Regions from separate parts of the Homo sapiens genome. Here regions 1 and 3 are each linked to region 2. The links are contacts of gene promoters, found by promoter capture Hi-C in blood cells and fetal thymus (Javierre and others, 2016). All regions are on one chromosome and are shown on one strand. Each heading gives the region's core, a stretch centred on a gene start or on the middle of the fragment in contact. The rest is flanking DNA. Distances are from core to core; before and after follow the strand shown. Region 1 holds the start of RPS3A (ribosomal protein S3A). Region 2 holds the start of USP38 (ubiquitin specific peptidase 38). Region 3 holds the start of NR3C2 (nuclear receptor subfamily 3 group C member 2).

Evidence for each region. Contacts are between HindIII fragments. The CHiCAGO score rates a contact against its expected background, and 5 or more counts as called.
Region 1: the fragment with the promoter of RPS3A here is called in contact with the fragment with the promoter of USP38 in region 2 in 1 of 17 cell types (non-activated CD4 T cells); the score reaches 7.8 in non-activated CD4 T cells.
Region 3: a fragment that was not itself captured here is called in contact with the fragment with the promoter of USP38 in region 2 in 1 of 17 cell types (non-activated CD4 T cells); the score reaches 5.5 in non-activated CD4 T cells.

Annotation. Positions count from the first base shown.
Region 1 is chr4:151,097,480-151,100,962 of GRCh38, reverse strand. It overlaps RPS3A (ribosomal protein S3A), which reads right to left and starts at 1,335. Exons shown (of 6, transcript NM_001006.5): 1 at 1,249-1,335; 2 at 375-478. The coding sequence starts at 1,310. RefSeq lists enhancers at 412-995, 1,016-1,575, 996-1,580, 879-2,078, 2,356-2,425. The HindIII fragment of the contact is 1,842 bases long and covers 847-2,688 here.
Region 2 is chr4:143,182,858-143,186,399 of GRCh38, reverse strand. USP38 (ubiquitin specific peptidase 38) reads right to left here and starts at 1,483. Exons shown (of 10, transcript NM_032557.6): 1 at 268-1,483. The coding sequence starts at 949. It overlaps USP38-DT (USP38 divergent transcript), which reads left to right and starts at 1,539. Exons shown (of 4, transcript NR_185979.1): 1 at 1,539-1,892. RefSeq lists silencers at 1,092-1,341, 1,562-1,611 and enhancers at 663-1,547, 1,548-2,433. The HindIII fragment of the contact is 4,447 bases long and covers 1-3,542 here.
Region 3 is chr4:148,439,784-148,442,948 of GRCh38, reverse strand. It overlaps NR3C2 (nuclear receptor subfamily 3 group C member 2), which reads left to right and starts at 535. Exons shown (of 9, transcript NM_000901.5): 1 at 535-789. RefSeq lists a silencer at 338-627. The HindIII fragment of the contact is 343 bases long and covers 1,346-1,688 here.

The sequences.
Region 1 (3,483 bases), core at 86-2,585, 7.9 Mb before region 2:
AAAACAAGTATCTTAACATTTAGGAACCATATAAGCAAAGTCAAGCCTGTAAACTGAGGGTAGAAATTAAGTTAATGGTAAATTATAAAGACCTTAACCTTTGTTATCAAATCTATCCAGACACCAGTGACTTATCAACAGTACTTATTTGAAGCTCAGAACTACCCATGGCACATTTTCTTAATTCAAAAAGCACCATCTTGCTTCTCTCCAAGTGCTGTACTAAAAATGATCACCACAGGTGCCAAGGCTGCAACCAAGAGCTGACATTTCCTTAAAGTCTCCCACCACAGGACCAACAACAGACCAAGATGCCTGCTACAATATACAAGCGCCAACTTAAGGAAAATACAAACCAAGAATAAGCTACTTACTGGTTCCTTGGGTCCTGGTGACGAGCGTCTTTCCAATATTTCTTATATTGAACATAGCAGGTGCTTTCACATCATACCAATCTTTCTTAGAAAATGGATCAACCCTGGATTTTAAGAAGATGCTTAAGTTCCATTGCAGATCAATTCTTACTGTATTTTTCACTGTTAATGGTATTTCCCATTAATATTTTAAAAAGCTAACCGGCAATTTGATACCAAAGTATATCTCACAGTGAGGTGAGGGGAACAAACATAAATCTAGCTCTTCCCACTGTACGTTTCACTGCATGCATCAGACTTTGAAAGGTTATGTCCACTTCCCACCCTCATCGGTCCATCCACTACACAGGCACTTAGAATAACATGCATCGGTCCTTCCACTACACAGGCACGAGTAACATGCAATCTCATTAACTTTGCTGGCACGTAATGGCATGTACTGGTAACTAAGAGACTGCATGGCCCCAAAGCTTAGCAGGAGCTCGCAGATTCCAGCGGGACCAAGCAAAGGCGAGATTGACGGGTCCTGAATGGATAGAAGGGTGCTTTCCTCAACTCCTGCTGTCGCAGTGCCATCAAACACTCGCAGAATTGAGGCAGCTCGTGAGCCCACAAAACTAACATTCCAGCCGAGTCGCGCCGGCAAGCCGGCTCAAACGCGACGCGCGCAAGGACCAGAAGGCCTGGGAAAGGCAGCCGACCTGCCGCTACTCAACACCGACCCTCCAGGCCGCGTTCCTGGGTGCACCAACCCGCCACGGCCCGCACAATCCGACTGGAATCCTCGCCATCCGGCCTACGCCGCGATCTAGGACCAGCCCGCCGATTCCAGCAGACCCCCAAAAAGCAAGACGCCACGACAGTCGCGACTTACACTTTCTTCTTGGCTCCCTTTTTGCCGCCTTTCGTAAGGCGCTTGTTCTTGCCAACCGCCATGGTGCTGGTCAGAGAGCCAAAAGGGCGGAAGTGGGAGTCGCGCGAGAACTTAGGCGTACGGGGGCGGGGCGCGCCGTCTACGTGACCTTTGCCCTGTTATTCTTCCGGCCTCAAGAATTCCGGGACAGTAGAGAGCGCCACTCTTTCTACTGTGGTTGCGACATCGCCATCGTGTGTGGGGAGGCCGCGCGGCATGCCGCGGGCTCACTGGAGGCTGCGCTGTGTAGACCAAGGCGTCGGTGGCCTGACGTGCAGGCGTCTGGTTACCTGTGGTTTCTGTGGCTGTGACGTCGGGAAGTAAGTTTCTGTAAAACGAGACGCCCACTCAACATCGTTCAAAGCTGAACTCACCGTCTAACCCCCAAACCTGCTTTTTGAGAGCATTGGCTTTGGAGTCAGTCAGCGGATCTGATTCAAATGCCGGTTTCAACAGGGCTTTGCTTGAGACCGACCTCTCCACGCTTGTTTCCTCATGCGTAATATGGGGGTGATAAAACGGTCGGCTTCATGAGGTTTCATAGGGCTAAATGAGCATCACTCCAGAGATGCTAGCGACGTTCTGCTTGTTGATGTGGATGCTGGTTCATCTCAGGTGTTGTTGCTTTGTGAACATTCACTAAGCTCTACGCTTATTTGTGTCCTTTTCTATATGTCTGTTATATATTGATTAAAAGGTTTTTTTAAAATAGAGTGAGACCGAACTCGTTGGCTCACACCTGTAATCCCAGCACTTTAAGAGGCTGAGGCAGGGGAATCAACTGAAGCCAGGAATTGGAGACTAGCCTGGGCCACACAGCCAGACCCCGTCTTTACAAGAAAATGATAAAATTAGCAGGGCGTTGGCCGGGCGCGGTGGCTCACGCCTGTAATCCCAGCACTTTGGGAGGCTGAGGCGGGCGGATCGCCTGAGCTCAGGAGTTCGAGACCAGCCTGGCCAACATAGTGAAACCCCGTCTCTACTAAACATACAAAAAATTAGCCGGGTGGGTGCCTGTAATCCCAGCTACTCGGGAGGCTGAGGCACGAGAATCTGAGCTCAGGAGGCGGAAGTTGCAGTGAGCCGAGATCGCGCCATTGCCTGGCCAACAAGAGTGAAACTGCGTCAAAAAAAAAAAAGTGAGATCTCCAAATGTTTCCATTTTTGCAACTAATCCAAACCCGCCTCCCCCATTTTTTTTAACTGTAGGGGTTAACAGAGCACATCCTGGCAAGGTGTGGCTGGCTAGCTCAAGTGTGCAGCCCTCGGAAAGCATCTGGCCCATACAGGCTTGGTACTCAGCCAGTGGTGTGTTGAGTTCCCTTCTCTAACTTCCCCTCTGGCAGAAAACCCTGTGACCAAGCCAAAACCAACCCTTACTTACAAGGCCCCCTGCAAGCTTTTAAACTTACAATCCCTTCCAGTCCTGCTAGCCTCCATCCCCTACCTCCCACTACACCCACCCCCCAAGACAACCTTCCTAAACCTCTAGTAGGGTCCTGAAATCTTTCAGTAATTCCATAAATCTCAGTTGCCTGGAGGATAAATTCAAAGTCTTAGTTTCATAATAGTATGAATGTACTTAACACTACTGAACTCTACACTTAAAAAAGGTTAAGGTAGCCCTGCCAGGTGTCTCAGGCCGCTAGTTCCAGGTATTCGGAAGGCAGAGGCAGGAGGATCACTTGAGGCTAGGAGTAGGACTCCAGCCTGGGCAACATAGTGAGACCCCATCTCTTTTTTAAAAAGATGATTAAGATGGTTAATTTGGCCAGGTGGTGGCTCATGCCTGTAATCTCAGCACTTTAAGAGGCCAAGGCAGGAGGTTTTCTTGAGCTCAGGAGTTTGATACCAGCCTGGGCAACATTACAAGACCTAATCTCAACTAAAAATAAAAAAAAATTAGCCCGGCTTGATAGCTCATGCCTGTAGTCCCAACTACTCGGAAGGCTGAGGTAGGAGGATCCCCAGCACTTTGGGAGGCCAAGGCAGATGGATCACTTGAGGCCAGGAGTTCGAGACCAGCCTGGACAACATGGTGAAACCCCGTCTCTACTAAAAATACAAAAATTAGCTGGGCGTGGTAGTGCACACCTGTAGTCTCAGCTACTCGGGAGGCTGAGGTACGAGAATCGCTTGAACCTGGGAAGTGGAGGCTGCAGTGAGCCGAAATCACACCACTGCACTCCAGCCTGG
Region 2 (3,542 bases), core at 234-2,733:
CTGGGTAATTAAGCAACTTGTTTAGTGCCAAAGGTCTTAGACCTGGACGTTCTCAACCTTTAAAATGGGAACGCTGCCTGTTTTTAAAGTACGATGTGACGTCCTGAATAAGGTAGTGAATGTGAATAAATTTGGGATGAGGTATTAGGATTTGCTCTCGCTTAAGAATGTTTTTAGGGCAGGAGGAAAACATGGTGTGAATGTGTGTGTGCAAGAGAGACATATACTGATTTTTTATGAGATATTCTGAAAGATAATGACCCTTACCTGTGGAAGAGATGCTTGCAAAAACTTCTTGCAGGGAAGGCAGTAGTGTGGCAGGCTCGGCCTTCCAGATGTTCTGCAGCAAGTTACTCACTTTTGTCACCTGGGAGACATATTCCCGCAGCTCTCTTTCCTGGGTGGACACGCACTGGAAATGGCCTATCGTTCGAACCAGCTGTTGACAGAACGTGATGGACAATTTCCCCTTGGGGATGCATTGCACAAAGTCGGTCAGAAGGTCGCTCAGTCGGGCACAGAGCTGCGGCTCCGGCCTCTCACACACCATCCGTAACACCTCTACCTGCAGGAGGCTAAAGAGATCCAGCACCGACGGACAGCTCATAATCAGCTTCAGGCCGTTGTGAATGTAGTCCAGGATGGCTACATCCTTCCTGTCCAGAGAGTGGTAGCCCTGATGAAGGAGGCCCAACACGAAGGTCTTGTTGAAGAAGGACTCGAACTCTGGCCGGTGGTATCGTGCGTAGGCCTCCAGCACCTGGTGCCCCACCTGCCGCTGGAAAGGGTCCTGGCCCTCCAGGATGAGCCGGGTCGTCAGGTCAAACATGGCCTCGCACTGCGCCTCGTCTAGCCAGTGCTCCGCCGATTCCACCACCTTCCGCACAATCACCCGCTTGAGGGGCAGGGGATGCGAGGAACTCACAAGGCCCTCCAGGATCTTGTCCATTGTCGCCACGCTGCAAGGCCAGGGCCAGGGGATAAGGAGCGGGTGGCGGCAGCCCCGAGGTGGGGCAGGAGAGCCCCGGGGCGGAGATGAACTTGGAGCGCCGCAGCAGCAGCGCGACGGGCCACGGCCACCGCCGCCTCAGCAGCCACATTTATGGCGCAGGGAGACCCATCCAAGCCGGGGCGGGAGCTAGCGAGCCTGGAGAGCCTAAGAACCGACACCTGCGGCTGGCCTAAGGCGCCAGAGGCCCGTACTCCGCCGCCGCCCCGGGCCCTCGATCCCACTCAGCATCAGCGCCGAGGGGCCTGTCGGGCCCCCCAGCGGCGTCGGCGGGAGCTCAGGGCCCGGGGCTGCTAGCCGGCGGGTGGAGGAAGCACGCCTCCGAGTTCCGGGTCAGGTGTGGGCGTCCAGTCTCCAGCAGGTCGTGAGAAGAAGCCGGTCCTGGGCTGAGTCAGGAGGCGCTGTCACGGAGAGTGCTGGGATCAGCCGGGGAGAAGAGACCGAAGCGACACCCTTTGACCCGGATTTTGAAGTGCCGGCAAACAGGAAGTGAAGGACCTAAGAACCTCCGGAAGGACCGCCCCTCCGCCCCTCTGCCCCTCCGCCCCTCCGCCTGTCCGCCTCTCTCCTTCTCCCTTGTTCCCTCTCTCCCTCCCTGCTCCCCCACCTCCCTCCCGAGTCGTAGACTCCCTTCCCCCCGGCGCTGGGAGTCTCCTTCCCGCCCCGCCGCGCAGGTGCGGCGACGGCCGCGTCACTGGAGAGTGTGTCGAGTCACAGGCGGTCTTCCGCGCGGAGCGTCCCCGGCGGACGCTGCGCAGATGGCTGCGACTGTAGGATTCTTGCCGGCTAGTCTTCGTCGGTTCCGCCTGCGTCAGGTTACTCGTGAAAACTCGAATAAGTGCTATCGATGTGAAATCCGAGGAAAAGAGCATTTGGGGGAAAAGTAAGGAAAACTCAAAACTCGGATTGAGAAGTCTGCCTTGGCTCATTAATCAAGAATTGCGCTTGCGCGCCTAAATGTGACTGCCTTTATCCTGCGATGTCGGTATTGAAGTAAGAGCAATACTGGCGGCGTACCTAGCATTTAGCGACCATCAGTATCAGTAGCAGGCCTCTAGCAAAGAACCAGTTAGTGAGCTTTGTACCATATCGAAAATTATAAGCCGTCCAAAAAAGTGTGAGAGTAAGGAAAATGGCAGATTAGAATCAAAATATTTTTATACCTGTGTCATACAAGGGTACTTTGAAAATAGAAAACCAGGTGGAAATACCACAAAACTTATTGTATATGTTGACACCGAAGATGGTTTACAATAGGGAAGAACAGGTGCAATCATGCTTGTTCTGTTTCATGCCAAATTCCGAAGATTCACAGTAAGAATTTAATCAGAGGTCTTTATATTGGAAAATATTGCCTAACTGTAGCCTGCTTCAGGCTTGGTTAATATAGTTGTGAAACTAGACATTAAGGCCCTGTAATACAGACAAAACTTTAAAGAAATAGGTCATTTAAAATGTCCCGTAGAAAAATGAACAAAATTCTGTTACTTCAGTTTGCTAAATAGTGTTTTGTTTTTTTACCAAGTTACAAACACGATTACACTAATATATTCACACGTCGATTATGGTAGTCTTAAGAAGAGCAGTTTAGAGGAGACAGGAGCTTGAGTAAAAGGGAACTTAAGACCAAGTTGACTCGTAGGAAGATACGGAAGATAAAAGAGAATTGAGGTAATTAATCTATCAGTCATGCTAGAGACAGGAATGATTTTTCCAATAGGAGGTGAAGGTACACAGATGTTTGTCTTTACTGGGAATAATGCCACAGTGGAAGACAAAGGTAATATAGAAAATAAAATATTAAGAAGGAATTAAGTATTAAGAAGGATCGTGGATTTGAGGTGGAGTGGAGGAAATTTGGAATTAATCTTTGTGCTAAGAAACTAACAGGACGAATGAAGATTGCTGAATAGTACCAGCGAAGTGATTATTCCAAAGTAGACAAGAAAAAAATATTGGTAAATTTAAAACTTGACAGATTACTTTGAATTGTCTATAACATTTTCTTCTTTCTGTTAATATTAGGTCTTGAAAAATTGAATATTACAAAATAAGATGTCTGAGAGAACATAGTGCTATTAGTCCATATAAATTACATGTCATAATATTAGACTTCCAAAAGCACCATGACTCTGTATTTTTAAAATACCTCTTGAATGATAGATGCATGAAATGAAATACTAGGTTTTTATACCAAGATATTCAACGCTTATTTCCTTCTTTTGCCACTGGTTAAAAAATGTATGTAATATGCTCTTTTATAAGATTTCAATTGAAAGTGGCCAACTTTAAATTTATTTTATAGCATAACTAAAAGTTCTATAATAATACCATGTTCCTTTTTAACATTTTAAAATATTTTCAGAAGTCTGTGGAAGATTTTTTTGCAGTGAATCATGCCACTAATCATTGGATTAGTGGGTGCTATTGTAATGGGCTTTAAAATTTCATATAAAGATTTAGTCTAAGGCCTCAATTGCCAACTACATGGTTTTACAAATATGTTAGATCTGAGAATGGAAGCTGAGTGATG
Region 3 (3,165 bases), core at 268-2,767, 5.3 Mb before region 2:
GTGGAGAGCGTGAGGGGACGACACTTTGCTCGCGGAAAAACCGACTTCTTCCGCGTCAGCACACTTTTCACATCTCTCCAGATATCCTGGGGTCGGTCAGAAGGAGAGCAGGGTGGACGTAAGCAAGTTTGGGGCGGCCGAGCGATGGGGGTGGGGGCAGCGTGCGGAGGCCGCCTGATGTAGCCACCGCCCGGCACCCCAAGCTCCCGCCGCGGCTGCGGCTTTAAGGAAGCTGCCGAGTCCAGGCTGTGTCGCAGCAACTTTGTATCAGTCATGTCGCCCGCCTGGTGACTGACAGCCTGGATTGTCCAATAAGAAGCCCGCCTGACCCGTGCGGCGTGGAGCCTTGCTTCTCTTCGGGCCAATAGGAAGGGTTCAGGGGGGCGGGATAGCAACCTGAACTTTATCTGGACATGTGACCCGCTTTTAAAAGGGCCAGCCCTCCAGCTGGCCCACTCCCCCTCCGGGCTTTCGCCCGCCCTCTCTCCCTCCCTTTTTTGCCCGCCCTGGCCCTGCCCCTGCCCCTGCCCCCTCCTCTCAGCCCCTCCGCGCCCGGGGTGTCATTGGGCCCGGGAGACGGGAGCCAACTTCAGGCTGCTCAGAGGAAGCCCGTGCAGTCAGTCACCTGGGTGCAAGAGCGTTGCTGCCTCGGGCTCTCCCGCTGCAGGGAGAGCGGCACTCGCTGGCCTGGATGTGGTTGGATTTAGGGGGGCTCCGCAGCAGGGGTTTCGTGGCGGTGGCAAGCGCTGCAACAGGTAGACGGCGAGAGACGGACCCCGGCCGAGGCAGGTGTGTAGGGGCGCGCGGCGGGGCACCGCTTGCCGTGCTCGGCGTGCGGCCGCGGCGCGGGAGCGTGCACTTTGCAGGGAGAAGTGGCTGCGTAATCCGGAGGCACAGTCAGTATGGTGCTGTGTGCTTGTTGTTTTGTTTTGGTTTTCCACTTTTCTCCCCCTTTGGCCGCCAGAGGACTATTTTGGGAAAGTTTGGCCACTTTGGATAAATGCCCTCTAACTAGCAGCTTTTAACTGCCTTTGGCAGTGGGAGGTCTACCACCCTTCCCTTTACCCAAAGATGAATTTCGGATCATTTTCCCTGTACAATTTTTAAAGGACGTTTGAATAATATTTCTTTCCTTTATCAATTGCGGACGCTCCCAAATCTCAGCCGGAGGTGTAGCGCATAAGGGCAGTTGAAGGAGATATAGATCCTAATAGATCCTGTATAAAAGGGGCTCTGGAAATTCGTGCATTTCCCGTTCGCTAGCATTCGCGAAACTCTTGAGACAGGCTACGCTTCCTATGGCATCAGTTGGAATTTTAAGGGCAAGGGAGAAGGGGACGAAGCTTCTTTTGGTGGCATCCTTACTCTGCTACTGAATTTTAGGTGCGTGGCTTTGCCTACTCAATTTAAAAAGACCAGGTTTAAATAATAATGGTTTATGGCACCATCAGTTTTAATTATTTATTATGACATAGGAGTTAGGAAAACTTTTGATAGCAGACGAGCTTTTGAAACCGCCGAATTTTAAAGGCACCAAATTGCTTCCTAACATTTTGTATTGCCATTTCTCTAGGTGCTGTTATTGATGATATTTACATAGTAATGATAACAGCATTCTCCATCTGTGAAGTCCTGCTGTGAAGTTTAAATTTTATGTTTGACATCGTGGCAGCTATCATGGAAAAGCTTGAGAGGAGAAGTTTTAAAAAATAATTTAAAGTGGAGCTTTTTCCTTTAAGGGAGGCATAGTTTTGTTTGGCGATTTTTGGAAAGATCAGGTGGCTCGGTAAATTAGGTGAGTGAATAGAAATCAGGTGTGCTCAGTTCTAACTGGTTCTCCCGCTCTCTCAGGTGACCTTGGGCAGATTTCTATCATTTACCTCATCTATAAAAGAGAGGAACATAATAGTTATGTAGTGGGGAATGACAAAAAATAGTTACATATAGTGAACTTTTACAACTATGCAGTCTATAGATGATTGTGAGATTCTTAAGCTTTAGTCTTTAAAGTGCCATCTTATAGTCAAATAAATATAAAAAAGATGCCTTTTCTATCATTTCCATCATGATGAGATTGGGTTTTGGGGGTTACTAAAAGTGAAAGTGTTTCCAGATAAAATACAAATTCGCAAGGATCTTTGTTAATATTCCCGAAAAAAGTACTTCTTTATGGAAAAGGGCAATTTAACACAGACTGTAAAACGTAAAACTTTAAGGTTTTCCTTTGTGAAAACAGCATTTCTTTTGTGTTTGAGAGCATATGTATGGCTTAAAGTAGCACCTCCACCAGTGCTTTTCCTTTAGTGAATTTTTTTTTGTGTTTTGGGGCGAGGCCCATTTGCATGAAAATTAAAAGTTCATAATGTTTTTTGCATTTGTCCTAAGAGAATCTTTGGTATGGTTTCCATTGTGAGGCAGGCAAGCCTGATTTTTGTTAGTTAGATTTGTATACCTCTATCTGCTTCATTTTATACTTTAGTAACATAAACTTTTTCTTTATCCTCTAGATATTAAGTTCTATGAGGATCATATTCATCGACTAGTATTTTCAGTATTCACTAGTTAGTACAGGTTGACTGAAATTCTGCTCAAGCCATGGTCATTGTGCCAGTTGCAAAAAGATAACCTCTGCTTCCTGGATGACATAGTAAATAAATTCCTAACTGGACCCATTTGTTTACAGAAAAGACTAATTAAAATACTAGGGAGACTCAAAATATTTCAATAATGCTATTTGAAAAATATCTGATCTTAAAAAAATGTTTGTGTAGAAGCCGTGCAGATGCTAGATGTCTTGTATTCTTTTGTGTTTGACTATTGCCAATCTGTATTGTTTCCTTTGTTGAGAGGTGCATTAGGTTGGTAGATGAGAATACCTTAAACAAAGTAATTTAGATTTCAGCAAAGCCTTTTGCAAATTCCTTAATGAGACTCCTGTCAATAATGTGGTGAAACACAGCCTATTTTATGTTATTAAGGGAGTTCAAGGTTAGCCAAACAGGACTTGGAAAGTTGTGATCAGCTGTATGATGTTAGCTGGTAAGGTGCTACCTTGTCCAGGGCTTTAAGACTGTCTTTGGTACCCATCATCTCCAGTATAGATTCTCTTCAGGTCTTCCGTAGCCTCACAAATGTGGGATATGGTTCTTGCTTTAGGGCAGAGTG